7 separate regions of the Homo sapiens genome follow, and regions 1, 2, 4, 5, 6 and 7 are each linked to region 3. The links are contacts of gene promoters, found by promoter capture Hi-C in blood cells and fetal thymus (Javierre and others, 2016). All regions are on one chromosome and are shown on one strand. Each heading gives the region's core, a stretch centred on a gene start or on the middle of the fragment in contact. The rest is flanking DNA. Distances are from core to core; before and after follow the strand shown.

The links. The method cuts DNA at HindIII sites, captures the fragments that hold promoters and counts their contacts. A CHiCAGO score of 5 or more calls a contact.
Region 1: a fragment that was not itself captured here is called in contact with the fragment with the promoter of TMEM263-DT in region 3 in 10 of 17 cell types (non-activated CD4 T cells, total CD8 T cells, activated CD4 T cells and 7 more); the score reaches 9.6 in non-activated CD4 T cells.
Region 2: a fragment that was not itself captured here is called in contact with the fragment with the promoter of TMEM263-DT in region 3 in 1 of 17 cell types (naive CD8 T cells); the score reaches 5.1 in naive CD8 T cells.
Region 4: a contact is called between a fragment that was not itself captured here and the fragment with the promoter of TMEM263-DT in region 3, in 9 of 17 cell types (non-activated CD4 T cells, naive CD8 T cells, naive B cells and 6 more). The highest score is 12.5, in non-activated CD4 T cells.
Region 5: a fragment that was not itself captured here is called in contact with the fragment with the promoter of TMEM263-DT in region 3 in 5 of 17 cell types (activated CD4 T cells, naive B cells, naive CD8 T cells and 2 more); the score reaches 6.5 in activated CD4 T cells.
Region 6: a fragment that was not itself captured here is called in contact with the fragment with the promoter of TMEM263-DT in region 3 in 3 of 17 cell types (activated CD4 T cells, naive CD4 T cells and total CD8 T cells); the score reaches 6.0 in activated CD4 T cells.
Region 7: a contact is called between a fragment that was not itself captured here and the fragment with the promoter of TMEM263-DT in region 3, in 11 of 17 cell types (fetal thymus, total CD8 T cells, naive B cells and 8 more). The highest score is 13.0, in fetal thymus.

The regions. Positions count from the first base shown.
Region 1 is chr12:106,251,703-106,254,402 of GRCh38, forward strand. It overlaps LOC124903008 (a long non-coding RNA gene), which reads left to right. Exons shown (of 2, transcript XR_007063443.1): 2 at 1-1,085. Among named protein-coding and RNA genes, the nearest start is that of CKAP4, 5.0 kb to the left of the region's middle. The HindIII fragment of the contact is 1,939 bases long and covers 329-2,267 here.
Region 2 is chr12:106,267,976-106,270,749 of GRCh38, forward strand. No RefSeq gene overlaps it. Among named protein-coding and RNA genes, the nearest start is that of CKAP4, 21 kb to the left of the region's middle. The HindIII fragment of the contact is 4,949 bases long and covers 1-2,774 here.
Region 3 is chr12:106,953,932-106,956,973 of GRCh38, forward strand. TMEM263-DT (TMEM263 divergent transcript) reads right to left here and starts at 1,564. Exons shown (of 1, transcript NR_185933.1): 1 at 1-1,564. TMEM263 (transmembrane protein 263) reads left to right here and starts at 1,976. Exons shown (of 4, transcript NM_152261.4): 1 at 1,976-2,134. RefSeq lists a silencer at 1,604-2,363 and enhancers at 1,640-1,934, 2,864-2,923. The HindIII fragment of the contact is 6,686 bases long and covers 1-3,042 here.
Region 4 is chr12:106,235,009-106,237,708 of GRCh38, forward strand. No RefSeq gene overlaps it. Among named protein-coding and RNA genes, the nearest start is that of CKAP4, 12 kb to the right of the region's middle. The HindIII fragment of the contact is 739 bases long and covers 923-1,661 here.
Region 5 is chr12:106,218,534-106,221,318 of GRCh38, forward strand. No RefSeq gene overlaps it. Among named protein-coding and RNA genes, the nearest start is that of CKAP4, 28 kb to the right of the region's middle. The HindIII fragment of the contact is 8,757 bases long and covers 1-2,785 here.
Region 6 is chr12:107,754,799-107,757,498 of GRCh38, forward strand. It overlaps PRDM4 (PR/SET domain 4), which reads right to left. Exons shown (of 12, transcript NM_012406.4): 3 at 2,034-2,167. The region is part of intron 3 of PRDM4-AS1 (PRDM4 antisense RNA 1); the gene reads left to right. Among named protein-coding and RNA genes, the nearest start is that of PRDM4, 5.0 kb to the right of the region's middle. The HindIII fragment of the contact is 2,346 bases long and covers 156-2,501 here.
Region 7 is chr12:106,293,254-106,296,024 of GRCh38, forward strand. No RefSeq gene overlaps it. Among named protein-coding and RNA genes, the nearest start is that of TCP11L2, 8.1 kb to the right of the region's middle. The HindIII fragment of the contact is 1,172 bases long and covers 671-1,842 here.

The DNA of each region.
Region 1 (2,700 bases), core at 48-2,547, 700 kb before region 3:
CATGGTGTTCGGTTACACCCAGAGGAGGAGGCTGGTGGGCAGTCATAGAAGTGCATCTTCCAGAGCAGGAAGGGATCAACAGCTCTTCCTGGAGACTTCCATTCTCCTACCCCAGTTTCTGAGCACAGCATGAATCTAGAGGAGTTTCTCTTCTGCTTTTCCTCCTAGTTTTGTTTCCTCTATCCCTTTTCCTTGCTAAAGTGTGTTGGATGGTCAGGAATGTGGGCGGAGAAGAGGGGGAGCTGGAGACATCTCATCCTTTCATCCAGCTTGTGTAAAAATGCCTCAGAACTCCCTCATACCACATGCACCATAAATTATAAGGTCAAGCTTTGTAAGCCTGCAGCCCTCTTGGCTTTTTGCATGTTGGTTAGAATGCCTAAATAGAAAGCCTCTGTTAATGTTGATTGCCTCTTGTCTGTTCCAGGTTGGCAAGGCCCCCAGTGGCCAAGGCATGAGCCTGGATGCCCTGCAAATTGAGTACGTGTTAGGGATGGGGGCCATTCTTTATAGTTTGACTCTGGAGAGCTAGGACCACCTTTCCCAGCCTCAGGGGTGCACATCCTCAGGAGCTGCCTACCTCCAGATATTGTAAGTCCATGCAGAAGAGGAAGGGCCCAGCTGGGGCACCTCTTGGTTGAGGAATGAGTATGTGACATTTTCATGTGGGCACATTTTGATACTACTTTAAAAATAGACCAAGCACAGTGGCTCACACCTGTAATTCCAGCACTTCGGGACGCTGAGAGAGGTGGATCACCTGAGGTCAGGAGTTCGAGATCAGCCTGGCCAACATGGAGAAACCCCGCCTCTACTAAAAATACAAAACATTAGCTGGGTGTGGTGGCACACACCTGTAATTCCAGCTACTCGGGAGGCAGAAGCAGGAGAATCGCTTGAATCCAGGAGGCGGAGGTTGCAGTAAGCCGAGATCACGCCACTACACTCCAGCTTACACTGGACATGATGAGGAGGAGGAGGATGATGGTGGTGATTATGATAGAAATGGTGATGGTGATGATGACAATGGTGATAGTAGGGATGGTCTTGCTCTGTCGCAATCAATAAATGAATGCATAAACACATTTCTACTTGTTTTTGCAGTCCTAAGATAAGTGCTCAGTAGCATCCCTGCCCTTCTAATGTGAACTTGAGGGATGGGTAAGACCCAGAGATGGCATGGGGGACGGGATAAGGAAGGCCTACTGTTCATATTGTGAACATGAAATGGTTTTACATTTTGATGCCACTTCATTAAATTGACTGTATGATATGAGCTAACGCTACACCCTCCTTTAAATTTTGGCTAACACATCCATATCCTCAGGTGGTATCAGTTGATAATGCCCATGAAAATATTTTGTAAACTACAGGGTGCTAAACAATTATTTACTTGTATCCCTTTCTGTGGGGCACAGTTTGATGCTATACACAAAGCAGTGAAGTCTCGACAAGAATGATGACCACTACAATGAGCACAAAATAAAGTCTTTTTGGGGTTTTTTGTTTTTTGTTTTCTTTTTGGAGACAGGGTCTCGCTCTGTCACCCAGGCTGGAGTGCAATGGCACGATCTCAGCTCACTGCAACCTCTGCCTTCTGGGTTCAAGTGATTCTCCTGCCTCAGCCTCCTGAGTAGCTGAGATTACAGGCCTGTGCCACCACACCCGGCTCAATTTTTTGTATTTTTAATAGAGATGGGGTTACACCATGTTAGCCAGGCTGGTCTTGAACTCCTGGCCTCATGTGATCCTCCTGCATCAGCCTTCCAAAGTGCTGGCATTACAGGCGTGAGCAACTGCTCCCGGCACAAAATAAAAGCCTAATAAAATAATATTAAAATTAATAGCAAACTTTTGTTGGGTCTTGCTTATGTGTGGTCATTGTACTAAGCACTCTGCATATATTTTTTATTTTTTATTTCCATAGGTTTTTGGGTAACAGGTGGTGTTTGGTTATCACTAAGTTCTTTAGTGGTGATTTCTGAGATTGTGGTGCACCCATTATATCTTTTAAACTTCACAACAACCCTATGAAGGACTTACTCTTCTCCACGTTTTACAGATGATAAAACAGAAGAGAAGCATAGAACAGTTAAGAAACCTGTCCTAGTTCCTGCAGCTATTAAGTGATAGAACCAGGATTTGAACCCAGGTGGACTGACCAGAGCCCGTGCTGTTAGGCACCATTTAGCTGCTTACAATCCTAGCAGGCCCAGCCAGTGCTGAAATGGGTAAATAGTGATCACTGGGTGGCTAAGGATGGAGAAAGCTTCGCACCCAGAGTTGGAATGGAAATCAGACATCTCAGTCCGAGGTGCCTTAACAGTCACTGAAGCTCATTCATTTTCAAGTTAATGAGTTCGAATTTCACTCACCAACCAAAACTTCACTGGCCAGAGGGATCTGGGGCCTCCTCCAGCTGGCATGAGTGATGTTAAATTTGGTGGTCTGGAAGGTGAGTGGCCTCCAGTGTTCTCTCTGGAGGAAGGGAAGCCTTCCTGTGCACAAGTTTCACTCCTGTAGAAAAGAGGGACCTTGTTTAGTTTGAGTGGGAGCCATCAGTATAACCCTTGATGGTCAATGGTAAAGCCCTTGCAGCTGAGAGGTTGGTTGGAACCTGGGTCTAAGGAAGCCAAGACCAGAGTTTCTGTGAACTTGGCTTTGTTATAGGGTTATATTCTGTAGAATCAGGGAGAGCTA
Region 2 (2,774 bases), core at 152-2,651, 690 kb before region 3:
CCAAAGTCCCTACCATCGTGGAGCTCTCAGGCTAGCAAGAGAGACAGACAATAGTACATTAGTAAAAGTCAGCATGGCCGGGCGTGGTGGCTCACGCCTGTAATCCCAGCACTTTGGGAAGCTGACGGGGGTGGATCACCTGAGGGCAGGAGTTCGAGGCCAGCCTGGGCAACATGGTGAAAACCCTATCTCTACTAAAAATACTAAAATTAGCCAGGTGTGGTAGCATGCACCTGCAGTCCCAGCTACTCTACTAGGGAGGCTGAGGTAGGAGAATCGCTTGAACCCAGGAGGCAGAGGTTACAGTGAGCCAAGATTGTGCCACTGCACTCTGGAGATCATGGCACTGCACTCCAGCCTAGGCAACAGAGTGAGATTCCATCCATCTCAAAAAAAAAAAAAAAAAAGTTAAAGGCAGCATCCTAGATACAGTAGTACTAAGTGCTAAGAGGAAAAAGTGAAATGGAGAAATAGGAACAGAAAGGGTTTGGAATCGGGATAGGGGTTATAATTTTAGATTAAGTGGTCAGGACTTCACTGAGAAGGTGACATTGGAGGAAAGACCTGAAGGAGTGAGGAGCCAGCCAACCAAATACATGGAAGAAGAGCTTTCCAGGCAGAACAAAAGAGCAAATGCAAAGGCCCTGAGGTGCATCCAAGAAACAGAAAGGAGGCCAGGAGAGCTTGTGCAAGTAAACAATTCATTCAGCAAGTATTTATGTTGCCCTGTTTATTTATTAAATTAACAAATAAATTAGCACAATGCCCGGCAAGTAATCAGCTCTCAGGACATGTGATGTTATTATCAATGTCATTATCACTATTATCTCTGTATCTCTCCCATCACCACCACCATCACCCAGTACCCAGCACAAGACCTGCCACCTAGTAAGAGCCCAGAAGCTGCTTAGTAAACTGAATCTCATTGCCCTGTGTAGGCTGGTGTCCCTAACCATTAACACTTGGTTATCCTTTGAGGTTTAGCCGCATTGGAAACTATTTCTTTACATTGGACTTTTTGCTCTAAAAAATCATCAGGTCTTAAAGTGATACCAGAATTGTATATAAATGCAGTAGTATATTTCTTTGGTTTAATTCCTCTACCTTCAAAATGATAGAGAGTCTAGTGTTTGGATTCTGACTTCCAATCAGTCCCCTGGATCCCTTCATTGTATAGGTCCATGACCAGCAGGATCCCTTGAGGGAAGGGCAAGTGCACCAGGCCCAGCATCTCCATGGCTTTGGAGTATCACGCAGGACCCAGCAGCCAGAATGAGGAGCTTGCTGTTTAAAATGCAGATTCACCTCTGAAGGGATTCTGCCAAAAAGAGGGGTAGTTGACAGCGAGGGAACCAGAGCTCACCAGGAAACTTTCAACCACAGTGACACTGCAATAACTCAGTAGACTTATCTAGTATGCTTAAGTCCTCACTTATCACTGTTCATAGGTTCTTGGAAATTGCAACTTTAAGCAAAATGACATATAACAAAACCAATTTGACCATAGGCTAATTGATATAAACACGACTTAAGTTTCTACACCCTATTTCTGGCCACAAAAGTATCACCAAACAGGCCAGGCGTGGTGGCTTATCTGAGCCTGTAATCCCAGCAATTTGGGAGGCCAAGGCGGGCAGATTACCTGAGGTCAGGAGTTTGAGACCAGCCCAGCCAACATCATGAAGCCCCATCTCTACTGAAAATACAAAAATTAGCTGGATGTGTTAGCACACGCCTGTAGTTCCCGCTACTTGGGAAGCTAAGGTAGGAGAATTGCTTGAACCAGGGAGGCAGAGGTTGCAGTGAGCCGAGATCATGCCACTGCACTCCAGCCTGGGTGACAGAGCAAGACTCGGTCTCAAAAAAAAAAAAAAAAAGTGTCACCAAACTTCTAAAGACCAAAACACTTCTCATAGTAAACACTAAAATACCTGTGAGCTACACATACATTTAAGAAAGATTAATAAAAACAAGAAAGATAATTATTTACCCAATTATTCCAGTTCAAGGTTGTAGGTGGCAGAAGCCTCTCCCAGCAGCTCAGGGCACAAGACTGGAAACCACCCTGGACAGGATGCTGTTCCATCACAGGGCACACTCACACCCACACCGATGCCCACACTCACTCTTACTGGGACCATTGAGACATGCCAGTGAAACTGACTTGCACATCTTCGGGAGGAAACCAAAGTACCTGGAGAAAACCCACGCAGACATGGAGAGAGCCTGCAAACTCCATACAAACAGTGACCCGGCTGGGAATCCACTGTTTTTTTTCTCACCAACTTTATAACAATACTACATTGAATGAAAAGACGTTATTCAAGACCTGCTGTACATGAAAGAGATTGAGAGTCACTAAGGAACTTCCTTCTGAGCCTCTGCCAGCTAGGAGATTTCAAGTCTCTTAGAAAGGAAACTCCTTGGTGAGGTAACATAATCCTGTACTTTTCTCACAGTGAGGAAGTCAGTATTACTATCTAACTTAAGACCCTCTTGATTCAATAAGCCTAGGTCTCCTCGTTCTTTCTTCAAGTGAAAAAAGTGCCATCGGCAGGGCATGGTGGCTCATGCCTGTAATCCCAGCACTTTGGGAGGCTGAGGCGAGTGGATGACCTGAGGTCAGGAGTTCGAGACAAGCCTGGCCAACATGGTGAAACCCCGTCTCTACTAAAACTACAAAAAATTAGCCAGGCGTGGTGGTGGGAGCCTGTAATCCCAGCTACTGGGGAGGCTGAGGCTGGAGAATCACTTGAACCCAGGAGGCTGAGGTT
Region 3 (3,042 bases), core at 314-2,813:
TAGGCTGAACTCCTACACCAGAAGTTTCTGATGAACTCATGACCTCCCAAAGGAGCTCTTTTAAATCTTAGTTAGTTTATGAAACAGATTCAACTGCTGCTTTGAGTTATGGCTTTTAATAACCGTAAAAATGCAAAATCTCCCAGGAGTGGCTACAATCTTGTCAGTCATTTGTACTTTAATAATAATTAGATTCTCTTGTAAAACGACGTGCAAAGGGAAGAAGAAACAAGACGTAATTGTGCACTTCATAATTTTACCTAGAGTTCAACCTTGAAAGGTCACATATTAAGGATAGAAGTTTGTGTAATAACGAGAAAACAGAGGATATCCGTTTCTTCACATACTGGATAAACAACAATCCACGGATCCTGCTAATCATCCAACCCATATGTTGAATTGACAAGAGTATTTAATTTCCTCTTTCTGCTTTGAGAAACTAAATATCTTGACAGTCTGAGCACAGTGGCTTAAGTGGCCTTAATTCTCTGATTTCATAAGTTAATGATTAGGTTGAAGCTATAAACTATAGTCCATTCCATTTAAGACCTGGATCAAAGTTAGCTTCATCCAGCATGTTTTAGCACGTCCTTTCTGAGCTATGTTGTCAGTAGTTACCATTCAGTTCCACCATCCTGAATATTCTGCAGTTGATAAACCATTTTGTGAATTTTTTTTTTTTGCTTTCTGTGTATGTTTTTGACTCGCGTGTTTTTGCTTCGCTAATCAGATTGCGAAAGGAAACATCTCACGTTTGCATAGGACTTCACAGTTCATAAAGACCTTTCCCACCCACCACAAAAAAAGTATGACAAGTTTCCCGTCATCTTCATTTTATAGGTGTGGAAAGGGAGTCAAAGAAAAGTTAATCGATACCATTTATCTAGTTAAGCAGGCTTTGAGCAGTTCATCTCCTCCCGTCCTCAAAACGACCTTCTGAGGTGTCTCCTGCAACCCTGCTCTGAAGCTCAGAGCGAGACGGCCTCACATCCCAGGGGGCTCAGCTCTGGCGGGGCCGCCACGCGCCTCCCCGTGCCTTTGGACGGGTGAGGAGAGCTGCTGCCCCGGCGGGGACCACGTGGAGGGGCCTGGTCAGCAAGTGGCAAGGACGCGGCGCAAAGCCAGGCTTTCTAATGTACAATCCGCGGCTCTTTCGATACTGAACACCCACCTCTTCAACAAATTCGAGCGCCTGGCAGGCCCTGCACCAAGCCTAGGGTGATGGCGACCCAGGCGGGTTTTTACTCTCAAGGAGCTCAATTCTAGGGCAGGGAGAAGTAAAATTAAAAAAAAAAAAATCATAACAAACTGAAAAACACATAAATAAGCCACGTCTCTCCTCACCCCTAGCACTTAATCACAAAGGCCTGTAGAGAGTCCCGACGAGAACTTCTGAGCAGGCCCCGCTGTCAGTCCCTGAGGACAGCATGCAAGGGAGGTTGACGTCCCTGGACGAAGAAAGTGCTGGAGAAACTGGCGACCGTCCCACCTTCCCTAAGGCGAAGGCTCTGAATTCCGAAGACCGTTACTCGGCGCGGAACGCGGGCACCGCCGACGTCAAAACACCGGGCCTGGGGGCCGCGGCCTACGCGTCTCCCGGGCTTCGCGCCCCTCGCCCGATTTGATTGGATGGTGGCGGGAAGAAGGCGGGGAGACCCCCGGAGGAGGGGCGCGCAGGCCGGCCGGGGGTTCCCACGGAGGCGTCCAGGGGGCGAAGGGGCGGGAGCGGGCCTCGGAGCGTCGCGCGTGCGCAATTGGGACACAGCCGGCTGGGGACTGCTGGGAGGGCCGGACCCTGCGAGAACGGGTGGGCGTGTGCCCGGTGGGCGCGGGAGGGGCCCGGGCTGCACGAGCGCGCGTGCGCGTCGGAACTGGAGCCGCGGGAGGAGGCGGGAGCTGAGGAGGCGGCGGAGGGGGCGGGTCGCGTCGGGCGCCACGTCCGCAGCCAGAGGCCTCCGCCTCCACCACCGCCGCCACAGTCTTCCAGCTCCACATCCTGAGAGGACGCCTCTGGAGCCGCGACTGCCCGGGGTTGTGCCGGCCGCCGCTGCCGCCCAGGCCGCCTCAGCTCTCCTCTGCGCCGGCCCGCTCACTCCGCCCGGCCCCAGCCCTAGCGCTGGCCGCGACCCCGGCGGTGAGTGAGTCGGGATGCGAGGGCAGGGGCGCAGTCCCGGCTTCCTGCCCTCCTCCGTCGCCCTCTGCCGTCGGCGCCCCTGCCCCTCACCTCCCAGTGCCCGGCCTGGCTGCCCAGCGGGGCCTTGGCGAGGCCCCAGCGGGAAAGGGGGAGGGGCGGGACGAAGTTGGGGGCGGATGGAGGTTCGCTTCTGGGGCTACTCCTCCTTATACGTCGCTGACTGCCCCGCCGCGATTGGAGCTTGCGCACCCCTGGAAAGCCTCCGCCTGACTTCTTAGCATCTGGGGGTTCGGGGTTGGGGGCGGAGGAGGAAGGTGAGGGGCATCAGCAGCCTGGGAGAGGGATGCAGCGGAGGGGCTTGGGTACCGGGCTTCCTCGCCCTGCCAACTCCTGACCTGTTGCTAAACCTCCCTTTTGGGTTCAGGCACACAAGACTTTTTCCCAGTGGACACCCCCATAGCTCTTCCTGGGTAGGAAGGCTGTATCTCCACGCCTAACCTAAAGTAAAAGTGGGAATGGAGAGGGTGCTGGCCGCGCCCAGGGGTGACAGGGAGGGCTGGAGCACCCATCCGTGCCGTCACTGCCTCCCAGTCTAAATAAAAACTGCCTGCTCTGCACACGCAGCTTCAAGACCGACCCCCCAGCTCCCACTTCCAATCAGATCGCCTGTCCTAAACCCTTCTTACATAGAAATTCTGGAGCCCTTCGGGAGTGGGGGGAGTGCTGGGTGTACAACGTGGAGCGGAGGGAGGAGGTGCCAAGCTCAGTGCTAGCCACGGCGCCTCCAGGGTCATTTTCTGCCTCCTGCCACGTCACTCACTGCTAAAGAAAAAAAAAAGATTTGCTAGTGCCTAAAGGGATCAGTAGGGAGAGAAGGGGCCACCCGGAAGGGTTTAGAAACACCTAGA
Region 4 (2,700 bases), core at 42-2,541, 720 kb before region 3:
CCATGGTTACTTCCCCTGCCCCACTTAAACCCTTTTGTTTATTCCTCATAGTTCAGATCCAAACTCTCAGGGATGACATGCAAGGCCTCCAGGTCCTGGCCCCATTAGCCCTCCTACCCCATCTCCACCCGACTCCCCACCTGTGCTTTCTCTATTCCAACTGCAAGAACTGTGCTCAGCCTCTCAACTCTCCTGACTACTTCAAACCCAGTACCTTTTGCCTGGTACCTGACAACCCTACCTATCTTTTAGAACTGGGTTCAAGTTTTACCACCTCATTATATAGTCACTTCTTTGAAACAAATCTTACCCACACACAAATTATTGAGCTCACAAGGAAGGATAACTTCAAAATATTTAATCTGATGGGCACCCACCCATCAGAACAAATGCAGGCCCTGGGGCTGGAGCAGAGTCTTGTGGTCTCTGCTATACTAGAATATTAACCTATTAGTTGCTGGATTGTAAAGAGGTATAGTGGTCCAGAGAGAGGACATGCAGGGGGTTCAGGGCAGAAGCTATTCACCAACTAGGACAACAGTATTTCAACATTTTAACCTCTGGTATGATCCATGCACGCATGATCACTGAAGCACTTATGATGTGCCAGATTCTGTGCTAACCCCTCAACACGCTCATTCAGTCCTGACAACCACCCTGTACCATCACATCATCTTCATCACCACCATCATCATCTCCATCTCCACCATCATCTCTATTATCAACACCATCACCATTCTAAGTGACTTGCCCAAGGCCACATGGTCAGTGGTGTAGTAGTCTCCTCACCAGGGTGCTGTCAGTCCTGCCTGAGAAGTTTCACTGCAGCCTCTTATCCTGGTGCTGGATCTGCAATTTAACCAACATGTTCAGTAATTTGTGTATATTGTTTGTTCAAAGGGCAAAACAACCTGTTTCCCGAAGCTTCCCATTACTCATGAAAGCATTCCAAGGGACTTCCCCCAGCCCTTCAAAAACCTGTTCTAACCACCTCTAGACCAACCATGGCACAATGGTCACTCCTTCCTCTTGGCCCAATACACCCAAGTATGGCACCTGTATTTCTAATACCTACCACTTTACATGACTGTCATTCCCACTGGGCTAGTCCTGTACATTTTAATTCACTGATACTTAGCAAAATGGCTGGCTATCAGCCCAATAAATGTTTATTGAATGAATGAACACTATATTGAATGAAGAAACAAGACTGAGCTGCATTATTTGGTGTAAGAACTCTAACTGCCCCACCATCAGAAATATGTGAATTCCTAATATATTCCTTTTATTTTCACCACTTGAATTTATATTTATCAGACACTTGTCAATATTTTCTTTTATAATATTAATGAGAATCTATTAAACCACTCCATAGTCAGAGATGAGCAACTGCAGAAATGACAGGAGAAACAGCAAGAACATACTCAATGCAACCAATTGGCCTGAAAAGGAAATGAATTTAATTTTTTCCATGCCTGCGACTTTATGCTGTTCCGCACCCTCCCCAAGTGGGTGAAAGTAGCCATTTAAAGCATACATGTCAATACTTAAGACTTTAAAATAAAAAGTAAAATGGTTTTGAAATAAAAATAGAAATTATTTACAGAGCCTGTCCTGATTTGCTAACTGCTTTGGAAAAAACTTCCAGCTCTGAGTTGTGAAGCTTTGAGGGACCCAGAGTGACTGACAGCAATTCAGAGATGAGGGGCCTTTCAGCCAGAAAGGGGGACATCAAGCCACAGGACCTCAGGTCCTAGCCACCCTCTACTCCCTAGGTGGGAAAGAAGAAATCTCTTGCAGCCTTGGGCTCTGGAACAGGACAGATATTCCACAGGCCAAATGGACCTGCACTGGTGTCAGTGGACGGTAGAGGATGCTGTCCCAGTTAGAGCAAGGATGAGGTCCAAAGCTTAGCCCTGCCACTTCGTAATGAATGACCTTGTATGAAGCTTCTCAGCCTGCTGTTCCTCTGTGAAATGGGAAATGATACTGCCTACCTCGGGGGACTGTAAGAAGGAATAACAGGTTATTATGCATGCTGAGCACAAGACCTGGCACACAGGTACTCAATAAACAGCATGTGGTTTTTATTGGGTGGAGGGTGGAAGGCAATCCAGAGAAGGAAACAAGCCCAGGTGTGCACTAGGGCTGAAGGTCACTCAGATGGTCTGAGACACTGGTTCTCAACCCTGACTGGACATTAAAATCAGAGAGGGAGCCTTTAAAATACCAGTGCTGGCCAGGCATGGCGGCTCACACCTGTAATCCCAGCACTTTGGGAGGTCGAGGCGGGCAGATCACGAGGTCAGGAGATTGAGACCATCCTGGCTAATACGGTGAAACCCTGTCTCTACTAAAAATACAAAAAATTAGCCGGGCGTGGTGGCAAGCGCCTGTAGTCCCAGCTACCCAGGAGGCTGAGGCAAGAGAATGGCCAGAACCCGGGAGGCGGAGCTTGCAGTGAGCCAAGATCCTGCTACTGCACTCCAGCCTGGGTGACAGAGCGAGACTCTGTCTCAAAAAAAAAAAAAAAAAAAACAGTGCCAGCCTCTTTATGCCTATTCAATCAGCATCTGTGCGGGCAGGGCCCAGGCATTTTTTAAAAGCTCCTAGGAAGATTCTAATAGGTAGTGAGGGTTGAGATCCTGTGCTTGAAGCTAACAGAGCTGGAGACAAGTAATCATTGAACACACTTGCTAA
Region 5 (2,785 bases), core at 39-2,538, 740 kb before region 3:
AGCAGGACCAGAGCAGTTTTGTTTGAGGCTAATTTTCCCTACATCTGAGTCCTCTGCCTAATGTACTGTGAAGTATGAGGTTTTGAGGTTTTCACTTTTACTGGTGGGAACAGAATCCTAACCCTATGTGAGCTCTGAGAATTATGGCCTTTCGTTCTTTGTTTGTTTGTTTGTTTGTTTTTGAGATAGAGTTTCACTCTATCACCCAGGCTGGAGTGCAGCAGTGCGATCTTGGCTCACTGCAACCTCTGCCTCCCGCATTCAGGTGATTCTCTTGCCTCAGCCTCTCGAGTAGCTGGGATTACAGGTGCATGCCATCATGCCTGGCTAATTTTTGTATTTTTAGTAGAGACAGGGTCTCACCATGTTGGCCAGGCTGGTCTTGAACTCCTCACTTCAAGTGATCTGCCCACCTCAGCCTCCCAAAGTGCTGGGATTACAGGCGTGAGCCACTGCGCCCAGACTCTCATCCTTTTAAGTCATTCTTTCTCCAGCCTTGGATAGTTTTCTAAAACACATGTGCTGATGGGTACTCTATTGAAGATTGGAGGGAGACCATCTGCAGATCTCAGAGTTCTATCTCCTCTGCAGTTCTCTGTCCTGTAACCTCTAGCCATGTTGGCCTCACCAGGCTCCTGGCTTTGCCTCTTCAACTCAGGGAGACTGCCAGAATCCACCTGGGATCTCCCTCCCTGCACCACAGCCTGGGTTGCCCAACTCTCCTCAGTTGGGCAACATATTCCTCTCCAGGCAACAAGCTAGGGCAGCTATAGCACTCATTTCATTTGCTTCTCTTCTCTCAAAGATCGCTGTCCTTCATTGCCTAGTGATCAGTATCTTGAGAATCATTGTTTCATATATTTGATCCAATTTCTTACTTTTTTCAGAAGAGTGGGTAAATCCCCTGCTGTTATTCCACCTTGGCCAGAAGTAGAAGTCAAAATATGAGTTTTTCATTTATTTTCTTAGGGAATTTTCTGGCATACACTCGTCTGTGTTACATATATATAATGTATATATATGTATATATACACACACAAATCTTTACTGGGTGCTTGCTATGTGCAAGGCACTATAGTAGTGCTGGGGATAGAGCTCTCATCAAGACAGACACAACTTACAGCCTAGTAGATGAACTAGGCAAACACGTAACTATATAATTACCACAGTTCATCAAATCTAAGATGCCATTGCTCATAAATTGCACCATTAGTTTATATGCCACTAAAAAAAACACTACCAATGATACTTCTGAGATGCCTTCAATTATAAGATGCATCCCAACTTCAGAGATGTTAGGTGTTTAGAAACATATACACATATCAGAAAGTCAAGGAAATATAGTAATAATTAATTGCAATTTTGATGAGAGCTGAGATAGAGAAATCCAGAATGCCAGCAGGCCACGTATTAGAAAAACCTGACTTAGCCTGGAGAGGCAAGGAAGCCTTATTCACATGCAGCATTTCAGCTGAGATCAAAAAGATGACCTGGTGTTAGCCAAGTGAAGGTGGGTAATAGGAAGGGCATTCTAGGCAGAGGGACTAGGTTGTGCCAAGATGCCAAGGTGGTAAGCAGTTTTGCATTGGTGGGGAACTGAAAGTGCTTCTAGTGAAAACTGAGGGACTGCAATGTGATTTTTAACTTTACCGTCAGAGCAACACAAGCCAGACTGTAAACAAAGGAATGATACACAGTCGTGTATCACTTAACAATGGAGACAAATCCTGAGAAATGTGATGTGTGGTTAGGTGATTTTGTCATTGTGAGAATATCACAGAGTTCATACACAAACCTAGACAGCATAGCCTACTACACACCCAGGCTATATGTTATGGCCCATTGCTCCTAGACTGCAACCTATACAGCATGGGACTGTCCTGAATACTGTAGGCAATTGTAACAGAATGGGAAGTATTTCTGTATCAACATATGTAAACATAGAAAAGGGACAGTAAAAATATGGTATTATAATCCTGCAGGATCAACATCGTATATGCAGTTCATCACAGACTGAAATGTCATTAAGTGGCAAATGACCGTAAGTAAATTTGTCCTGTTGAAACATCACTCCGGCTTCTGTGTGACGGGTGGACTGGGAGAAGCACAGACACTGGTTAAGAGGCAATTACGAGAGTCTGGGAAAGACAGAATGATGGTTTGGACAAGAGTCATGGCAGTGGAAATCAGGAAAAGTTCCCGGGAGATATTTATAGAGATGCATCAATACGATGACCAGCTGTGGACACTAAGGGAGAGGGAGGCACAAGGACTCATGCTTCTGACATGAGAAATTAGATAGATGGAAAAGCCATTTACTCCGATATGGTTCAATGGAGAAGGAGGAGGTTTCAGAGGAGTGGTCAATGAGCTCATTTGGAGCACAGTGAATGTAATAAGTTTGTACCACTCATGGGTTTTTGTTGCAATCAACACAAAACACTCCTGAACATTTGCCACCTCAACCCTGAATGCTCAGTTTCTTCAGTTTCAGTGTAAATAATTCTTTTTTTTTTGGAGACTCAAGTATAGTTTTATTATCTTTCTACATAGAAAACCTAGTTTTAGGGTACATGTGCACCTATGTGCCACAAAGATTCAGAGCTCTAGTCTGAGAGTATGTAATTGGCTAAGAACTAGAAGAGATAACATCTGTGCCCCCTCCCTAAAATAGAAAGGGTGTTTTAATGATGGAGAGTCCACTGAAAGATCTTTAAGCAAGCCTTGGAAGGATATCCAGTGGCTCACGACCAAGCCCTTAGGACTGGTGGAGGAAAAGAAGCCT
Region 6 (2,700 bases), core at 79-2,578, 800 kb after region 3:
TTTGGTATTTTTAAACTTTATTGTATTTACCATTTTATATGGTGAGAATATTTCATTTCTACCTGGAAAACAACGTAGTTTAGTTAGATGTAAAACTGTACATGTACACCTTCATACAATCTTTTGTATATATGCTACACTTAGTGATTAATAAAAGCTTTAAACGTGAGATTATATCTACTTTGAGTTATATGTACTTGCAAAGTGAAGTGACTTTTACTGGGCTAAGTATCATAATAAATACCCACCAACTTGGTCAGTGCTGATTTGCATATTTTTGCCAGGGGCAATATTTTTTTTTTTTGAGACAAGGTTTTGCTATGTTGCCCAGGTTGGAGCGTAGTAGCATGACCATGGCTCAGGCAACCTGAGCTTTCCTGGCTCAAGTGGCCATCCCTTCTCAGCCTCCTATGTAGCTCCTACGTAGCTGGGACTACGGGTGTGTGCCACCATGCGCTGCTAATTTTTTTTTTTTTCTTTGTAGAGATGGGGTCTCCTTATGTTACCTAGGCTGATCTTGAACTCCTGGGCTCAAGTGATCCTCCTGCCTTGGCCTCTCAAAATGCTGGGATTATAGGCGTGAGCCACTGTGCCTGGCTGGCAATATTTTTTAACAGGCTTTTCCACCTTAACAAGAGTGTCCACTAAAGGGAATGCCTACAAACAATCAAGTGGGTTAACCACTAATAATTTTTTAAGATTTCTTTTGTGGACACTTAAACAAATGTGAAGAGACCCTAGTTTCAATGAATCTTATTTAACTGCTGCATTTTATTAATTAAGCAAGTAATTCTCTTTAGAGAACTATTTAAACAATATATAGATTTATTTATACTAACTCCTACTGTGACAAAGAAAGTCCAATACATAACAATGTCATTGATCCTAAAGAACTGACAGCTTATCATTGTAATAATCAATAGAATATTTATTCCATTTATATTCTATTTCAATAGAATAAGAAAATGAAGCTAGGCAGAAAAAAGGTTTTAAAAGTACAGTGACGGCTGGCGCGGTGGCTCACACCTAAAATCCCAGCACTCTGGGAGGCCGAGGAGGGCGGATCACCTGAGGGCAGGAGTTCGAGACCAGCCTGGCTAATATGGTGAAACCCCGTTTCTACTAAAAATACAAAAAATTAGTTGAGCATGGTGGCGTGTGCCTGTAGTCTCAGCTACTCGGGATGCTGAGGCAGGAGAATTGCTTGAACCCGGGAGGCGGGCGGAGGTTGCAGTGAGCCGAGATCGTGCCATTGCACTCCACCTTGGTCGACAAGAGCGAAACTCCATCTCAAAAAAGAAAAAAAAGAAAATGAGCCAGGTGTAGGGGTGCATGCCTATAATCCTAGCTACTCAGGAGGCTGAAGCAGGAGAATCACTTGAACCCGGGAGGCGGAGGTTGCAGTGAGCCGAGATCGTGCCCCTGCACTCCAGCCTGGATGACAGAGTGAGACTCCATTTCAAAAAAAAAAGGATAGGAAGAATGAATTTTTCCTATACGATTTTGCTGTGTATGGAGGCTCATGAGGCGTTCCATGTAAAAGCCCCAGGTAAAAGTACCACACTTCTTTCCACATTAATTCTAGACCTGGTACACTTGCAGTTATTGCCATTTAATTTCAAACCTGGTGGAATATAAAGCCCAATTCCCCATGCTCTCTGGGAATAGTTATTAGAGTAATTTTAACTGATTCTCTTCTATTAACCCAGGGAACGGGTACTGAAGTGTGAACCAGATGAATGGGCAGCCCTAAATAAAATGCCAAGTTAATTACAGCTCTGGACAAAAAGCTACCAACTCAGAAGAGGACTATCAGAAAAAATTGCTGCTACTATCCACTAGAATTCTAATACTCTACCTCTACAAAAACCTTATTTTCCATTACCTATCACATGTTGAACCACCATTCAGGCCTGCTTACCTTCTCCCTTCTACCTTCTACCCTTAAAGGGGCTCTGATCTCTTCTAGACTCCATTTAGAATTGATAACAGAGTTAAGTGTTGAAATGCAGTAGGTCTCCCTTACCACTCACCTGGGGCAGGGATGGCACTGTGAGTGGGTGAGGCAGCCAATCCCAGGTGACTTCCTGAGACTGGCAAGGCATTGCTCACAGAGGATGAAGTCAGCTGCTCCATCCCCACTGGACTCAGGTTCATTTCATTCATCCTAGAAAAGAGCACACACAACTAGTTATGCAAAAATTTACTCCAATGACTCTGTATTAAGATACTGAAGAAACTGAAACAGTGGGGATGGGGAAATGGGACTTGGCCAACTATTAGTTCACTTTTACGCTCAACAATTCTCTTAGATAGCTAGTGCCATATTCTTTCTACTGATAAGAAAACTGAGATTGAGACATTAAAAACTCAATTCAATGTCACATAGCAGAAATAGGATTTGAATTCTGCCTTGTTCGAAACTCTAGGCACACCATCTAAAGCAAAGTCTGCAATTCTTAGAGCACAATGGCAATGACAGTTTTTTTTTAAATCACTCAAGCTTCATCTTTTATAATATTTATTTTTCTCCAAATGGCTTATTATTTCAAACCAGTAGTGTTTTAGGCAGCGCATTTTAACCTACTCAAGTAAATTTTACTAATCATTTTTAATAGGAGTTAAAGATCCAGATTATCGATGATGTGAAAAGCATCGTATTTTCCCCATTCAGCAACAGTTTACTAAGATTCTGTATCA
Region 7 (2,771 bases), core at 7-2,506, 660 kb before region 3:
TTTGGACTCCTGAAGAAATGGCGCAGAACCATCTATGTAGATTTAGAAAGTGAATTGAGTTCCTCACCTCATTTGGCAAGAATGGTGAATTTCCCACAGTTCGCAGGTACCTGTGGTTCCAAAGTGAGCTGCCGTTTTTGAAAATTATAAAAGCAACACTGAAGCAGTTTAAACCAATCCAGATTTTTAGCTAAGTAGTTCCAATTTTCTTCCTTATCAGTTAAGCTCATATCAGCCTTATTTTTCAACAATGAATTTGACCTAAATACTGATTTAGGGGCCTGAATCTGTTTTGTTGAGATCACTTGAGAACTTCTTGTACATGTATCTGCTTGGCTACTCCTTTCTCTAGGAAGCCTACCTGGGGGTCGTCAGTTCTGGATTACATGCTCCTTCTATGTGGCCCCTTGGATTGACTTCTATTTGTCAAGGTATAATTTTCAACAAATTGAAAACATGACTTATATGAAACAGAACAAACACGGGCTTAAAAAAATATTTATTTCATCAATTAAAGAGTTAGCCAGTAAAATGGTAAAGTTGGTTTAAGGAATATTTGAGAAATAGGGGTTTATATATCCCATCAAGAAATGCATTTTTAAAAATCTTACAATAAGATTACTAGGTTAGACACAAAATTGGTTAATGTCTTATAAGGTAATAAATAGTAAGCTTTTATCTTTTCTATAGAACAGAAAAGATTTTACTTGTATTAGAAATGGACAAGAATAATTTGCATTGTTATCAATTTTTTGGTGTTTTGTTTTGGGTTTTGGTTTTCGGTTTTTTGACATAGGGTCTCTGTCACCCAGGCTAAACTGAGGTGCCATGATGATAGCTCACTGTAGCCTCGAACTCCTGGGCTCAAGGGACTCTCCCACTTTAGCTTCCTGATTAGCTGGGACTACAGCCACATGCCACCCTGCCCAGCTAAGTTTTGTATTTTTTTTGTAGATACAGGATCTCTCTATGTCGCCCAGGCTGGTCGCCAACTCCTAGCCTCAAGCAACCTGTCCATCTTGGCCTCCCAAAGTGTTGGGATGACAGGCGTGAGCCACTACACTGGGCCCTTGTTATCAGTTTTTGATAAAGTAACATCTGCCTTTACAAAGTTCTGGAATATCTGAACCAATAACGAGTAGTAAGTCCAACAAAGGTACACAGTCCTAGATAATGCATGAATCCTTGTACGAGTCTGCTACTACACTGCACTACACAGCACCCTACTAAAAGGACATCCAGTAATCCCTTTTGCCTATTTCCAAGTCTTTGGATAACGTTTGGATAATTATCCAAGTTTTTGGATCATTGTTCTTAACACAATATAAAGTTATATTATTTTCCTGAATGGATCTGACTTACTGGCCTAATGAGTGGAGAATAGTAATCCTCACATTGATATATAAATACTGGGTGATGTGTTAGGCTCATTTGTGAGGTAAATAAATGGCTCCTGTACCACCAACTTATTAGATTCAAATTTGCTCCTTGGCAGAATTTTAAATTATCGCATGTCACAGACCTTTAAGTTGCCCAGGACCTGTCGAAACTGTAAATATTAAATCATTAAAATAACAAGAGTATAATAATAGTAGTTACAGTTTACTGATCCATACAATGTCGCTGGCACTCTGCTCAACTCTTCATATACATTATTTCTTTTAATTCTCCCACAGGTTATGGAGTATTTGTTCTAGTCAAAGTTCTTAGTGGCAAATAATACACCTTAGTCTGACTAGACCAGAAGGGTCTTCGTAGCTCATGGAACTGAGACCAGAGGGTCTTGGTAGCTCATGGAATTAGCTATCGAGTGACTCTAACATATTTTAGACTGAAGAACCAAGCTTGGGAAAGAACTAAAGGAAGCCAGGCATAGCTAAGAACATGCTAAGGATGCCATAGCTGGTGTCATCAGCATTGGGCACCACCACTGTAGCTCTGTGAATCACCCCTATCTACCTGTGGTGGTCAGCATCTGACAGAACATGCGTAGGTCCCATGCCCATGCTACAGCCACCAGGGTCTGGGAAGACAGAATGCCTTTCCAGCTCCAGTAGTAAAGTATTAATGGGATTAGCATATCATCCCCTCTCTGGCTTCTATAATAAATGATAACAATTCAAATACCATTCGGAAAGCTGGATCACCAAAATGACAAATGGCCCCCACAACATTATTATCCCCATTTTATACCTGTGAGGATAAGGACATATGTATAATGAGTGGTGGAACTTGGCTGTCAACCCTCTGGTCTGTCTGAACCCAAAGCCCACCCTCTTTCCACCATACCACATTTCCTCATTATATACAATTATTTTGTACCTCAGTTGATTAATTCTTTGAAAATTTTGATCTACGTAATGCTTGTAACTTTTAAAAAGTCATTTTTTTAAACGTCCACATATCATCACAGAGGTCTTCCTTTAAATAAAGAATTCAGCTTCAGCATTAAAATTAAATTTATTTGTATAATTATGTTACACCGAGCATTTTTTTTTTTTTAGACTGAGTTTCACTCTGCCACCCAGGCAAAAGTGTAGTGGCGTGATCTTGGCTCACTGCAGCCTCTGCCTCCTGGGTTCAAGTGATTCTCCTGCCTCAGCCTCCCAAATAGCTGGGACTACAGGAGTGCGCCACCACGCCCAGCTAATTTTTTGTATTTTTAATAGAGACGGGGTTTCACCATGCTGACCAGGCTGGTCTTGAACTCCTGACCTCAGTTGATCCGCCCACCTCGGCCTCCCAAAATGCTGGGATTACAGGAATGAGCC